5 separate regions of the Homo sapiens genome follow, and regions 2, 3, 4 and 5 are each linked to region 1. Evidence: promoter capture Hi-C in 16 types of primary human blood cells and fetal thymus (Javierre and others, 2016). All regions are on one chromosome and are shown on one strand. Each heading gives the region's core, a stretch centred on a gene start or on the middle of the fragment in contact. The rest is flanking DNA. Distances are from core to core; before and after follow the strand shown. Region 1 holds the start of FBXO21 (F-box protein 21). Region 2 overlaps MED13L (mediator complex subunit 13L). Region 3 overlaps WSB2 (WD repeat and SOCS box containing 2). Region 4 overlaps KSR2 (kinase suppressor of ras 2). Region 5 overlaps KSR2 (kinase suppressor of ras 2).

Region 1 (2,595 bases), core at 37-2,536:
CACTGAACTAAACTGATTTTTTTTTTTTAATGTGCAGATCCTGAGACTACCCTCCCAATCCTGAGTGATAACTCCCGCTTTGAAGACTCAAATCCAGGCTTTAGCACTTTTGTCTCTGTAACTTTGAACCAGTGACTGCCACCTGGAAGAACTTTGCCTTTTCTGTAGAATAGGTATAACTGTGGTACCTATTGTGGGAGGTCAGACTATGCTCCCCAAATATGAAGGATTGTTGAGCTGGAAACAATTAAGAAACCAGTACAGGAGAGCTCTCTGCCTGCCCTCTATTAGCCTAAAATCAGGGCACACATTTGAGGATTATTATTACTCCCCTACACCATCATAGAGGGCTTCCCATAGCACCCACTCAAGAATATTGTTATTATTACATCATATGGTTAAGATTACTGACAAGCAAAAGTCAAGTGGATCTGAAATAGAATCCAAGACAAGGGGCTGGGCGCGGTGGCTCACGCCTGTAATCCCAGCACTTTGGGAGGCCGAGGTGGGTGGATCATTTGAGGTCAGGAGTTCGAGACCAGCCTGACCAACATGGTGAAACCCTGTCTCTACTAAAAATACAAAAATTAGCTGGCTGTGGTGGCGGGCGCCTGTAATCCCAGCTACTCGGGAGGCTGACGCAGGATAATTGCTTGAACCAGGGAGGTGGAAGTTGCAGTGAGCCGAGATCACGGCCACTGCACTCCAACCTGGGTGGTGGCGCGCGCCTGTAATCCCATCCGCACGGGAGGCTGAGGCAGGAGAATCGCTTGAACCCAGGAGGCAGAGGTTGCAGTGAGCCGAGATAGCGCCACTGCCCTCCAGCCTGGGTGAGAGCAAGACTCCTTCCCAAAGGGGGAAAAAAAATCCAAGACAAGGGATCCTGAGCAAGCCCTCTCACTCTCCGAACCTGTTTCCCCATCTGTAATATGGGGAGAAAGTTCGCAGGGTAATTCGGAAAGGTCCAATGCGCACAGAAAGCGCTCAGCACGCGTGAGAATAGATACCATTTTTATTTGTTAATTTTAAACATTAATTACGTTTAAAAGAATCAGTGCTACTATTGTTGTCCCGGACTAGAGGCGGCTTGCGCTGCCGGCTCCAAGCACAGAGCCCAATTATGTCCTCCCTTTTGCGGCGCTGCCACCCGCGCAGCCCCCAGCCGATGCAGGGGAGGTGTGGCCCGCGGATGGGCGGAGCGATCTCAGGACTCGCCCCCAAGACCAGTAGGCGGGGCCAGGCGGGGCGCCCGGGCACTCTCGCACGCGCGCGCGCGGCGGCCCCAGGTACGCGGACAAGATGGCGGCGGCAGCAGTCGACAGCGCGATGGAGGTGGTGCCGGCGCTGGCGGAGGAGGCCGCGCCGGAGGTAGCGGGCCTCAGCTGCCTCGTCAACCTGCCGGGTGAGGTGCTGGAGTACATCCTGTGCTGCGGCTCGCTGACGGCCGCCGACATCGGCCGTGTCTCCAGCACCTGCCGGCGGCTGCGCGAGCTGTGCCAGAGCAGCGGGAAGGTGTGGAAGGAGCAGTTCCGGGTGAGGTGAGCCAGCGGCCCCGCGCCCCGGCTGCGCGCCCACCGCCCCGCGCCCCCCGGGGCCGGGCAGCCGCCCCGCTAGCTCCCCGCGGCCGCCCCGCGCGCGGACCCCACCCCGGACCCCTTCCCGCGGACAGACAGACAAAGGCCTCCAGGCCCCGGACCCTGCGGGGCCACGCCAGGCGGACCCCCGGGTCCCCAAATGGCGCATCTAGGAGCGCCTCGCAGCCGGGTCCTCCGTCAAGGGTGACGCTGGCGGCGGCGCGGCTCGTCCCTTTTGCGCGCTTCTTTTGTGCCCGACTTCGGGCTGAAATGTTTACATGGACCCAGTGATGCATCGATCGGGCGGGCGCAGCATCCCCGGGCTGGTTGTGGACGGCACAGATTTCAGCGTGGCCCCAGGATGAAATCTGGCCCTGCACACTCCCTCTGTGACCTTGGGGGGAGCGACTTCCCTTTTTTTGAGCCTCGTTCATAGACTTTGAGTGGTGGTGATCATTAGACCTACCTTTCACCGTGTTTATTAAATTAGATGATGTCCGGGAGGCACGCACGCAGGGCCCCGGCTCCTAGGAGGCGCTCAATCAGTGCTCACTGTCATTGTCATTATTATTATTGTTGTTGTTGTTACAACTGTCCCCATTTTAGAGATGGGGAATGGAGACATCATTCATGCCGCTACGCCAAGGTCACACCGGGAGTGAGTGAGTGAATGCTGGTGGGGTTTTGAACTAGGTCTCTCGCCGGGGTCCCTCTTACCACTGGACGCCACTGCTGTCCCTGTTTCCAAGGCTGCCTTGGATTCGTGGCCGCCTGCCTTTGAGTTTCTGTTAAGCTGAGGGGGTGTTTCTCTCCTCGTAGGTGGCCTTCCCTTATGAAACACTACAGCCCCACCGACTACGTCAATTGGTTGGAAGAGTATAAAGTTCGGCAAAAAGCTGGGTTAGAAGCGCGGAAGATTGTAGCCTCGTTCTCAAAGAGGTTCTTTTCAGAGCACGTAAGGATCTGTTGATGTGGCTCTAAGCTTTGGCTTGCTGGTGTATGTGTCTGGGTCTGCAGGCAT
Region 2 (2,595 bases), core at 52-2,551, 920 kb after region 1:
TGGCATAGATGCCTTTTTGCTATGAGACTAATGGAGAAATGCAAATTCTCGCCAACTTTTCAAATGAAAGTGTTACTTTATTAAATGTGTTACAATGCAGACCAAAAAATCAACACGTGATTTTTACCTACAAAGACATAGTATCATTGCTCCCACTCTAGTAAAATCAGGTAAATTTTTTTAAATGAAATATTTTAATCCAGATATTTAATCTTAAAATTCATTTATAAGTTGGAATTCTTTCTCTTAGTATTGTGATAATTTTCCCTTGATTTTTTGGTATGTGGGAGTAAAACCCCCTTTTGCCTCAACTTTTTCCCTCCTCAGTCTTATCATTTAGTATCAGTCAGGTTCAGGGACTTCCATAGATTAGCAAACATATTGATCAAGGGGTATTTAAAATGGTTTTTGTGTGGTTACTGGTGACCACATTGACACTTACAGGTAATTAAAATAACCAAGTAGAGCGATCTCCCAAATTATCATATATTATGCTGACTGGTAATGGCTGTGTATATACGGATTCTGTAGACAAATGAAAGTATATGTATAGCCAGTCTTTAGGGTATATCATTTCTTTTATCTTTTTTTTTTTTTTTTAAAGCTTAAGTAAGGATGATAACGTTACAGAGATAAAATGCTTGAGATTCTTTTGGAGAAGCAATTTTGTAGGAGAGGATTCTGTACTTTGATTTTGAATGACTAAAGGTTTGTGTTTGAGATATTTCTCCCCTAAACCTCTTTAAACCAAGGGATTGATTTTTGAATATGCTTTTTTAAAAAGAATTATTTTTTAAGTAGCAACTTTGAACTAGAGAACCATAGAAATGCTTAGTTGATTTTTTTTTTTAAAGGAACGTAGAATGTCTTCATTCTCTTGTACGTGGAGTGTGGATAAGGTGCTATTGAAGAAATGTAAATTAATTAAACTGCTGACTTGTACATTTTTCTGATTCCAAATTGAGATTTTTTTTTTTTGAAAATGCTATACAGCAGTAGCAACCTGGAATATTAAAAATATGTTGCCCAAAGTACATTGTATATCATAGTTATTTCTGAAGGAGATGTAATCACTTGTTCAAAATCATGTTTTTTTATAAGAACGCTTTATGGTTTAATAATAGCATGCATTTTTTTCTTTTGGCCTGCAGGGTTTTTTTTTTTTTTGTTTTGTTTTTTTTTGCAGAGAAAAGTATTTATAAAGAATTTACCTAGATACTCTCATTAGTTAGATTGAAATAAGAGATTAAGTTCTGTACCGTGGTAATACCCACCCAGTTTCCATTACCTTGAGGTGTTCATTATGGCTTACCAAAAGTTGATTGTGCAATCAATCAGACACTTTAAGATTTCTGCTAGTCTTTTACTTATTTTCTGATTTTTTACTGCACGGAATCAAATTTCTTAAATTAATTTTTCAGCATCCATTCCCTTTTCCTAACGTGTGAAAAATGCCATTGTGTATATATGATATGGGTCATTGTATAAGTTTCTTATTCTAACTGCTGTGAGATTTGTAGCTGCTGCATTAAGTGCATGCCTGCCTGTGCCTTTCTGACTCAAAACTATTTTCTTATGCTGTCCATCACATTTCTGGGTGACTTTTTATATATTCACTCAGTTAATCATTCAGTTAAAAGTGTGTTAAATCTGCCTTTTTGAAAAGTGTAACAGTGCACCCTATGGTATGTGAACTCATTCTTGTGAGAAGACATAATTTCTGGATGTTAAGTAGACATTTATTTTTCTCTATTGAGTTAATATGGAGAAAGTGATTTTGTGCCCTTTAACTAGATTTAAATATGTGCTCTTTGATATGAGGGAGTGATCTCTAGTTCTTAGATATGTATGCTCCACTTTCATGTTTTATTTGCTTAGAATCTTCCTGACTATGGATAATTGGGTGATAATCTCAAATTCTTGCTGAATTGAGACACTAGTACACCCATTAGTACATAATTCCTATTGAAGACCATTAGTTCTATATTTGAAGCTTTTAAGGTAATCTATTGTTGACCTACTTTCTTTTTGTCTTAAGGGATTTTTTTGCAGAATGGGAAGGTAGTTGTAAATGTAGAAAGTCTGAATTTTTTTTTTTTTTGCGCTAGAACAAAATAGGGTGGACTATAAAATGGAAATTAGGAAAAGGGAATGATTTCTCTAATTTTCAAAGTGCCAAAATACACAAGGTATTTTTTTGTACCAGTTCATTGTGATTTTATAATTTATGTTTAAAGCATTTTTTTCCATGATGGTTCATTTTCTTTCTTTTTATTTTTTATTTTTTTGAGACGGAGTTTCGCCTTGTTGCTCAGGCTGGAGTGCAAAGGTGCCATCTCAGTTCACTGCAACCTCTGCCTCCCAGGTTCTAGCGATTCTCCTCCCTCAGCCTCCGGAATACCTGGGATTACAGGCATGTGCCACCACGCCCGGCTAATTTTGTATTTTTAGTAGAGACGGGGTTTCTCCATATTGGTCAGGCTGGTCTCAAACTCCCGACCTCAGGTGATCCACCTGCCTCAGCCTCCCAAAGTGCTGGGATTACAGGCATGAGCCACTACGCCTGGCTATCATTTTCTGTAATGAAAATATTTA
Region 3 (2,595 bases), core at 43-2,542, 840 kb before region 1:
CCATCAAAGCAGTGTTGTCTCTTGTGACTTCTCCCCCGACTCTGCCCTGCTTGTCACGGCTTCTTACGATACCAATGTGATTATGTGGGACCCCTACACCGGCGAAAGGCTGAGGTCACTCCAGTAAGGACTGAATCCCTGCTATGACTTTTTTGTGGGGGGACTGATGAGGAACCTGCCTGGGATTAGACATGTCTCTTTTAGAATCTGGGACATGGGAGGGGACAAGCTGGATAAAAAGGCACAGTGGGTCTCTTTTGAGACGGAGTCTCGCTCTGTCACCCAGGCTGGAGTGCAGTGGCGCAATCTTGGATCACTGCAACCTCCACCTCCCGGGTTCAAGCGATTCTGCTGCCTGAGCCTCCCGAGTAGCTAGGACTACAAGCGTGCGCCACCAGGCCTGGCTAATTTTTGTATTTTTATTAGAGATGGGGTTTCACCATGTTGGCCAGGCTAGTCTCAAACTCCTGACCTCAGGTGATCCACCGCCTCAGTCTCCCAAACTGCTATTATAGGCATGAGCCACTGCGCCTGGCCTGGTTCATTGCTTCTTAGTGATGCCTTGTCAATTAAGCCCTCTCAAGTAGCTTTGAGTGTCTTCCAGTCTCCTGATTCAGGTGGCTGTGTGTACTTCTTCGGAATCAGCATTATGAAGCCTCAATATGACTCTTTATTTCCATTTACTAATAACTGTAGTAACAAGTTCAGAAAGAGCCTCTTATCGAAACTGTGCTTTCCAAAATGAGTTTCATGTTCTCACAAACTTGGTCTCCTTTTTCCTTTTGTGTCTGTTGTTTTATGAAGCAAATAATAGGCAGTCCTATAATTATCATGTATCTTAGCCTAAAAAAGACTTGCAGTTTCTACTGTGGCATTAAAGTGAGGGCTGACCTACTTTGCATAAGCAAATTAGCACAAGGAAGTGTTAGTAACCCTTCATCCACAGGACACCTGGAGCCTTCTGAGATACCCTTTTTTTTCCCAGTGTGCAAATCCCAAGCTTTTCCACGAGGGGCACACAATGCATCTTGAGCCCTTTTGTAGCCAGGGCAGTTTGGCTTCCTGCCTAGGGTGATGATGGAGGGTGGAGAGCAGCCATCACTCCAGGCCTGCCATCCTGTTTCTTTCCTTCCCAGCCACACCCAGGTTGACCCCGCCATGGATGACAGTGACGTCCACATTAGCTCACTGAGATCTGTGTGCTTCTCTCCAGAAGGCTTGTACCTTGCCACGGTGGCAGATGACAGGTAACGAAGAGAACTCTCTTTACATGGCCTCAGAACAAGTGCTTGCAAGTAATGGCAGCAAGGCCCTCTTGGTCTGGCCCTGGGTCAGCTAATATCCAGATGTTCTCTCTCCCCATCCAGACTCCTCAGGATCTGGGCCCTGGAACTGAAAACTCCCATTGCATTTGCTCCTATGACCAATGGGCTTTGCTGCACATTTTTTCCACATGGTGGAGTCATTGCCACAGGGTATGTATTTGTTAGCTGAACAGATGGGTGGTGCTTTCTGCTGAGTATACCATGGAGCTTTTTAAGGAAAGAAACCATCTAGAATTTTCTTGCCTATGAGGAAAGCTTTAAGGCAATTCAAGATTATATAAAACTCAAATGATCGATTTTGCTAATAACGGTGTCCCATTTTCTCTGAATATTTAACCTAAATGTAATTAAAGATCTGTAAGTCATGCCACCTAATGGGCCAAGTTCACAAGGGAGAATAAAATTGAGATGATGCATAATATATGGGAAACCATTTAGGGCTAAAAGACCACTTTACAGGTAACATCTATAATTCAGTAGGTGGCACTCTTCCCCCTTATACTTTTGAACTAACTGTGGTCAGATTTAGAAAGGGCTGTGCCGAGAGAGAGACAGAGAGAGCGCTTTGGTATCACAGGTGTCTTGAGTTTTTCTAATCCTATCAGCAGCTTTAATTATTCAGCACCACAATTTTACATCCATTTCCACAGTCAGGGTTACATTTCACTCTCCGAAGTCTCCTGCTCTTTGCAGTCAAAACAGAAACATGAGTATTCATCCTCATGAAAACATGAACATCCAAGCTCTGTCTTAGCATCGGTTTCTGTTTCATTTTAGGACAAGAGATGGCCACGTCCAGTTCTGGACAGCTCCTAGGGTCCTGTCCTCACTGAAGCACTTATGCCGGAAAGCCCTTCGAAGTTTCCTAACAACTTACCAAGTCCTAGCACTGCCAATCCCCAAGAAAATGAAAGAGTTCCTCACATACAGGACTTTTTAAGCAACACCACATCTTGTGCTTCTTTGTAGCAGGGTAAATCGTCCTGTCAAAGGGAGTTGCTGGAATAATGGGCCAAACATCTGGTCTTGCATTGAAATAGCATTTCTTTGGGATTGTGAATAGAATGTAGCAAAACCAGATTCCAGTGTACTAGTCATGGATCTTTCTCTCCCTGGCATGTGAAAGTCAGTCTTAGAGGAAGAGATTCCACTTGCACGGCAACAGAGCCTTACGTTAAATTTTCAGTCCAGTTATGAACAGCAAGTGTTGAACTCTTTCTGCTTGTTTTGATTCAAAGTGCAGTTACTGATGTTGTTTTGATTATGCAAC
Region 4 (2,595 bases), core at 40-2,539, 670 kb before region 1:
TTTGGCAGATCACTTGAGGTCAGGAGTTTGAGGCCAGCCTGGCCAACATGGCAAAACCCCGTCTCTACTGAAAGTACAAAAATTAGCCGGGCATGGTGGTGCACGCCTGCAGTCCCAGCTACTCGGGAGGCTGAGGCAGGAGAATAGCTTGAACCTGTGAGACAGATGTTGCAGTGAACTGAGATCCCACCACTGTACTCCAGCCTGGGTGTAGAGAAAGACTCTGTCTCAAAAAAAAAAAAAAAAAAAAAAAAAGTTCAGCTCATATTCTGGCACCAAATAGCACTCAGTAGATGCCAGCCTGTTACTGTTGTGAGCATCTGACATCTTATGTCCGCTCTCAAAGATTAGACCACGTTCTTAACATCTTGAGGATTGTGAGATTTTCTTACCCCCTGGGATCCCAGAGACCGACTCATTTGCAGTGACAGGGCCAAGCCAAACCTAATAAAACCAGCGGACATCACTGCATCTTTCATGCCAGGCATTGTGCAAAGGGTTTTGCACTTAGGATCTCAACTGCTGAGACTGTTCAGCCTCCTCGCAATGACCTTTTGAGTAGGTGTGACTGTTATCCCCCTTGTACAGAGTGGGAAACTGAGGCTCAGAGCTAAGTGAGTAGTCTAGCTGGCAAGTGGATGGGGCTAGCAGGATGTCCAGCTCAGATGGACAGCAAAGCTTTAGGTCAGAAGCACTGTGCATTAGCCTTGTTTTCCTGTTGCCTGGGTCCCCCCAGAGCTGGGCAGAAGAGGAGCTTGCCTCCCTGCCAGTGAAACCAAGAGTCCTCTCTCGAGGCGCTCCCTGCTTCCTACTTGAAGAGGCTTCCTGTCTTTTTTAGACCTTGTCCGCAGGGACAAGAATCTCACCCAGCCCCACCAGATCTAAGAATCCCAAGTTAGAGGCAGCATCACCCCGCTCCATTCCTCCAGGCCCCCACCCCACCCCATCTTGCATATGCACATCAGACCACGCGCAATCTCGTATTTCCTTATTTCATTCCCAGTATGGCCAGATGAGTTTCTTGCAAATATCCTTAGAATGAATGGTCCTGTATAAGGACAGACAGTGTTGTATTTGCATGGCTCAGGGCATTTCTTTTGGAGGCTTCAGAGTCATTTATATATCAAGTGCCACTTGTGGGGGCAAATAAGGTAGAAACGATTCGATTCTAGACCAGGGGTTGAAAACTGGTGGCCCTCAAGCTGGTTCTGATATGCAGACATGTTGTTGTTGTTTGGTTAATATGATGTCAGGACATTTATTTTGAGCCAATACTTAAAAACCGAAAGAGTCTGTCTAAAAAACCCAGAGATCTCTGGCTTCACTTACAAAATCAGAAATGTTGACCATGCTGAACTGAGCTCCTGTCTGGCAGCGATTTGCTCATTTACATTTACCTGACCTGCAGGTACCTGAGTTTTGGCTCTTGCCTTAGTCACTGAGCATCTTGAGTCCAGGGACCCAGGGAGTGGGCGGGAGAAGACGTGGGGTTTCTGCTCTTTGTCTGCAGTTCAGGTATGTGTCCACCAGAGGTCCCCTTTCTGTGAAGTGACTGAAGTATGGAGAAAGCTCCACAGTAAAACAGCTGGGTTTGAATCCTGGCTCCACCAATGACTTGCTGTGTGACCTTAGGCAAGTGGTCTAACCTCTCTGAATTTTACTGTCCTAGTCTGTAAGTGGTGATGATAAAAGTGCCTACTTTCAGTAGTTTTTGTGATAATAAAAGGAAATCTATCAAAAACCTTAAAACAGTGTTCCATCCATTTCAGCTATTATTATTACTATTATTTTATCAAACAGAGGTGTGTCTGCCCTTTTGGCCCAGGTTTGTTAAGGGTTTCTCCATTTTTGATGTTATAAAAATGTTACTTTTATGATTTTTTTCTGAACTTAAGCTTTAGAGTAAATTGAAATATATACATATATAAATCATAAGATTAAAATGCACAAGTGAATCCTGAAGCAAAGAGGAGAATCCTTTTATGTTATGAATCACCCCCTTCAAACATGAGTCATTCTGTACCTTCAGATCCTGGACTGGGTGCAGTGGCTCAAGTCCGTAATCTCAGCACTTTTGGAAACCGAGGTGGGAGGATCACTTGAGGCCAGGAATTCGAGACCAGCCTGGGCAACATAGTGAGATCCTATCTCTACAAAAAAATTTAAAAATTAGCCAGGCATGTTGGTGCATGCCTGTAGTCCCAGCTACTCAGGAGACTGAGGTGGGAGGGTCGCTTGAACCCAGGAGTTTGAGGCTGCAGTGAGATATGATGGCCTCACTGCACCCCAGCCTGGTGACAGAGGGAGACCCTGTCTCTATTTAAGAAAAACAACAACCAGAAATAAACAGATCCGTGGTCATCACCTTTCTTAAAGGGGCTCACCAGCAATGTGTCCCTATTTGAGAAAGCCTCTAAGTGACTCCACTATTCTTCTCTCTCTGCCCCCTGCCTGCCTGGGTGAGTTGAAAAGGCACCATAGCTCATATTTTTGAAGATAATTTTTTGTACTGAGACAGTTTTCTTCTTTCTGGCTATCAGTTTAATGTGGGAGCTGTATCTTGTTGTAATACACAAACATGACCACAAGAGGGTA
Region 5 (2,595 bases), core at 49-2,548, 650 kb before region 1:
CTCTGGCTGTCATCTCTGATCAGCGCTGTAGTCACTTTCTCTTTTTATTCCTGGCATCCACGAGGTGCTGGGCAGAAGAATTGGGTGCAGAATTGACATTGAACTTGTGCTTGGCAGGGCCTGAACTCTTTGAGGTTTGTGGGTTCCATGAAACTACATGAACTGAGTCAGCTCCAAACAGACTATTACATCTTAGAATGAGACCCCCAGTCCTGTCCCTGGGCTCCCGATCTGGTCCCTATCTGCTGATGTTTTCACTGGCTCATTGCACCCAGCTACCCTCTCTTCTTCACAACGCCTGCCCCAGGGCCTTTGCACAGCCCTTCTTTCTGCCTGGAATACCCTGCCTCAATCTTCCTCTGGCTGATTCCTTGTCATTTTGGACTCAGCCCAACTGCCAGCTTCTCAGAGTCCCACTTCCATCCTGGCCACTCTCTATCCTATCATAGTCTCTAGCATATCTAAAATGATTTTGTTTATTTTCATACCCCTTTCCACAAGAACAGTGGTGCTCAAAACCTCAACATGTATCAGAATCCCCCAGAGGGTTCCACTCCCAGAGTTCCTGCTTCAGCCAGTCCGGGGCAGTGCCCAGAAATCTGCATTAACAAGTTCCCAGGCGACGCTGGTGCTGCTGGTTTGGGGAACACGCTTTGAGAACCCCTGTGTTGGAATTCTCCCTGCATCTGGCTCAGAGTTGGAATGCAAGAAGTAGTCACGGAGTGACTGAGTGAATGCTAGTGGTTGATGATAACAGCAGCGACAAATATTGATTGAGTTCTTACTGGGCCAAGTCACGCAGCACCTGCTCATTTAATTCTTCAACAACCTCATGAGGTCCGTAGGATTATTATTCCTATTTTCTGGTAAGAAAACTGAGGCTCAGAAAGGTAGAGCCCTTGCCTGGGAGGGGGGTGGTGGTCACACAGCAACTAAGTGTCAGAGGCGGGGTTTGAACTCATTTCTGTCTGACTCCTGTTAAGCGGAGGCTTCCCACATAAAAAAGTGGTGGGAATGAATGGCTTTCTCCTTAACTCTGAGTGGTCCCTGTGTTTCCATTTGCTCAGCTTGAGGGAGCAACCCTTTGGGGCTTTTGTAGCAGCTTACACTGGAACTGAGATAAAAAGAAATTATTTAAAGGCTGCATGTAAATATCAAATAATATTGCACATTTGCAGAGCACCTTCAGTTTTAGGAAGCACCTGCATGCAGGTGATCTTGTTTTAGCCTCGCAACCATATGAGTGGTGGGCAGATTAGGCTGCACGCCCAGTTTCACAGATGGGAACATTCCCAGCAGATTTGACTCTCCATCAGTATCTCTGTCCTTCCCAGCCACGGTCCTGAGGGAGGATGGGAGGCTTCTGTGGGCGCATGATTATGTTTGAAACTTGCAGGGAACATGCAGGGGGAAGGCAGAAAGGGCAAGGAGGATGAAAATATTTGTTATTATTTGGAGCAAAATTATTCTTGCCTTCCTTTAAAATATGCTGAGGGGAGATGGCTCCAGTTCATTATAGTCATGATTTTCACTCAGGTGGCTTTTTGCTTTCTCTAATTATTTCCCTGATTACCAACTTATACACTCGTGTGAGAAGTACCCAAGCTATTGTTTGGGAGAGAAAAAGAAAGCACCGCATTGACCATAATTTGCATCCACATTGGTATGTTACTTAGCAATTTTTTTTTTTTTTTGAGACAGAATCACTCTGTCGCCCCGGCTAGATTGCAGCGGCTTAATCTCGGCTCACTGCAACCTCTGCCTCCCAGGTTCAAGCAATTCTCCTGCCTCAGCCTCCCAAGTAGCTGGGATTACAGGCACCCACCACTATGCCCAGCTAATTTTTTGTATTTTTAGTAGAGACGGGGTTTCACCATGTTGGCCAGGTTGGTCTCAAACTCCTGACCTCGTGATTCGCCCACCTCGGCCTCCCAGAGTGTTGGGATTATAGGCGTAAGCCACCATGCCTGGCTTAGTATTTTTTAAACAGCTGCATGGGGACAGGCGTGGTGGCTTACGCCTGTAATCCCAGCACTTTGGGATGCCGAGGCAGATGGATCACTGGAGGTCAGGATTTTGAGTCCAACCTGGCCAAAATGGTGAAACCCTGTCTCCACTAAAAATATAAAATTTGGCTGGGCATGGTGGTGCATGCCAATAGTCCCAGTTACTTGAGAGGCTGAGGCAGGATAATTGTTTGAACCCAGGAGGTGGAGGCTGCAGTAAGCTGAGATCATGCCACTGCACTCCAGCCTGGGCAACAGAGCAAGATTCCATCTCAATAAATAAATAAATAGGCCAGGTGTGGTGACTCACACCTGTAATCCCAGCACTTTGGGAGGCCAAGGTGGGTGGATCACCTGGGGTCAGGAGTTCAAGAACAGCCTGGCCAACATGGTGAAACCCCATCTCTACTAAAAATACAAAAATTAGCCAGGCGTTGTGGTGCACGCCTATAGTTCCAGCTACTCAGAGCGTCGAGGCAGGAGAATGGCTTGAACCCTGGAGGCGGACGCTGCAGACAGCCAAGATTGCGCATTGCACTCTGGCCTGGGTGACAGAGGGAGACTCCATCTCAAAAAAAAAAATAAAATA

What was found. Contacts are between HindIII fragments. The CHiCAGO score rates a contact against its expected background, and 5 or more counts as called.
Region 2: a fragment that was not itself captured here is called in contact with the fragment with the promoter of FBXO21 in region 1 in 3 of 17 cell types (activated CD4 T cells, total CD8 T cells and naive CD4 T cells); the score reaches 5.7 in activated CD4 T cells.
Region 3: a fragment that was not itself captured here is called in contact with the fragment with the promoter of FBXO21 in region 1 in 1 of 17 cell types (endothelial precursors); the score reaches 6.0 in endothelial precursors.
Region 4: a contact is called between a fragment that was not itself captured here and the fragment with the promoter of FBXO21 in region 1, in 2 of 17 cell types (endothelial precursors and M2 macrophages). The highest score is 9.5, in endothelial precursors.
Region 5: a fragment that was not itself captured here is called in contact with the fragment with the promoter of FBXO21 in region 1 in 1 of 17 cell types (endothelial precursors); the score reaches 6.1 in endothelial precursors.

What each region holds. Positions count from the first base shown.
Region 1 is chr12:117,189,161-117,191,755 of GRCh38, reverse strand. FBXO21 (F-box protein 21) reads left to right here and starts at 1,286. Exons shown (of 12, transcript NM_015002.3): 1 at 1,286-1,538; 2 at 2,394-2,529. The coding sequence starts at 1,300. RefSeq lists silencers at 1,070-1,129, 1,170-1,269, 1,550-1,599 and an enhancer at 2,070-2,159. The HindIII fragment of the contact is 6,345 bases long and covers 1-2,558 here.
Region 2 is chr12:116,272,997-116,275,591 of GRCh38, reverse strand. All of the region lies in intron 1 of MED13L (mediator complex subunit 13L), which reads left to right. Among named protein-coding and RNA genes, the nearest start is that of MED13L, 3.4 kb to the left of the region's middle. The HindIII fragment of the contact is 1,389 bases long and covers 607-1,995 here.
Region 3 is chr12:118,033,866-118,036,460 of GRCh38, reverse strand. It overlaps WSB2 (WD repeat and SOCS box containing 2), which reads left to right. Exons shown (of 9, transcript NM_018639.5): 6 at 1-123; 7 at 1,137-1,247; 8 at 1,368-1,475; 9 at 2,103-2,595. The coding sequence ends at 2,265. It also overlaps a transcript of RFC5 not described here. Among named protein-coding and RNA genes, the nearest start is that of RFC5, 18 kb to the right of the region's middle. RefSeq lists enhancers at 729-778, 789-848. The HindIII fragment of the contact is 580 bases long and covers 1,003-1,582 here.
Region 4 is chr12:117,856,800-117,859,394 of GRCh38, reverse strand. The region is part of intron 2 of KSR2 (kinase suppressor of ras 2); the gene reads left to right. Among named protein-coding and RNA genes, the nearest start is that of KSR2, 110 kb to the left of the region's middle. The HindIII fragment of the contact is 1,217 bases long and covers 681-1,897 here.
Region 5 is chr12:117,840,099-117,842,693 of GRCh38, reverse strand. The region is part of intron 3 of KSR2 (kinase suppressor of ras 2); the gene reads left to right. All of the region lies in intron 2 of LOC105370011 (a long non-coding RNA gene), which reads right to left. Among named protein-coding and RNA genes, the nearest start is that of KSR2, 130 kb to the left of the region's middle. The HindIII fragment of the contact is 5,051 bases long and covers 1-2,595 here.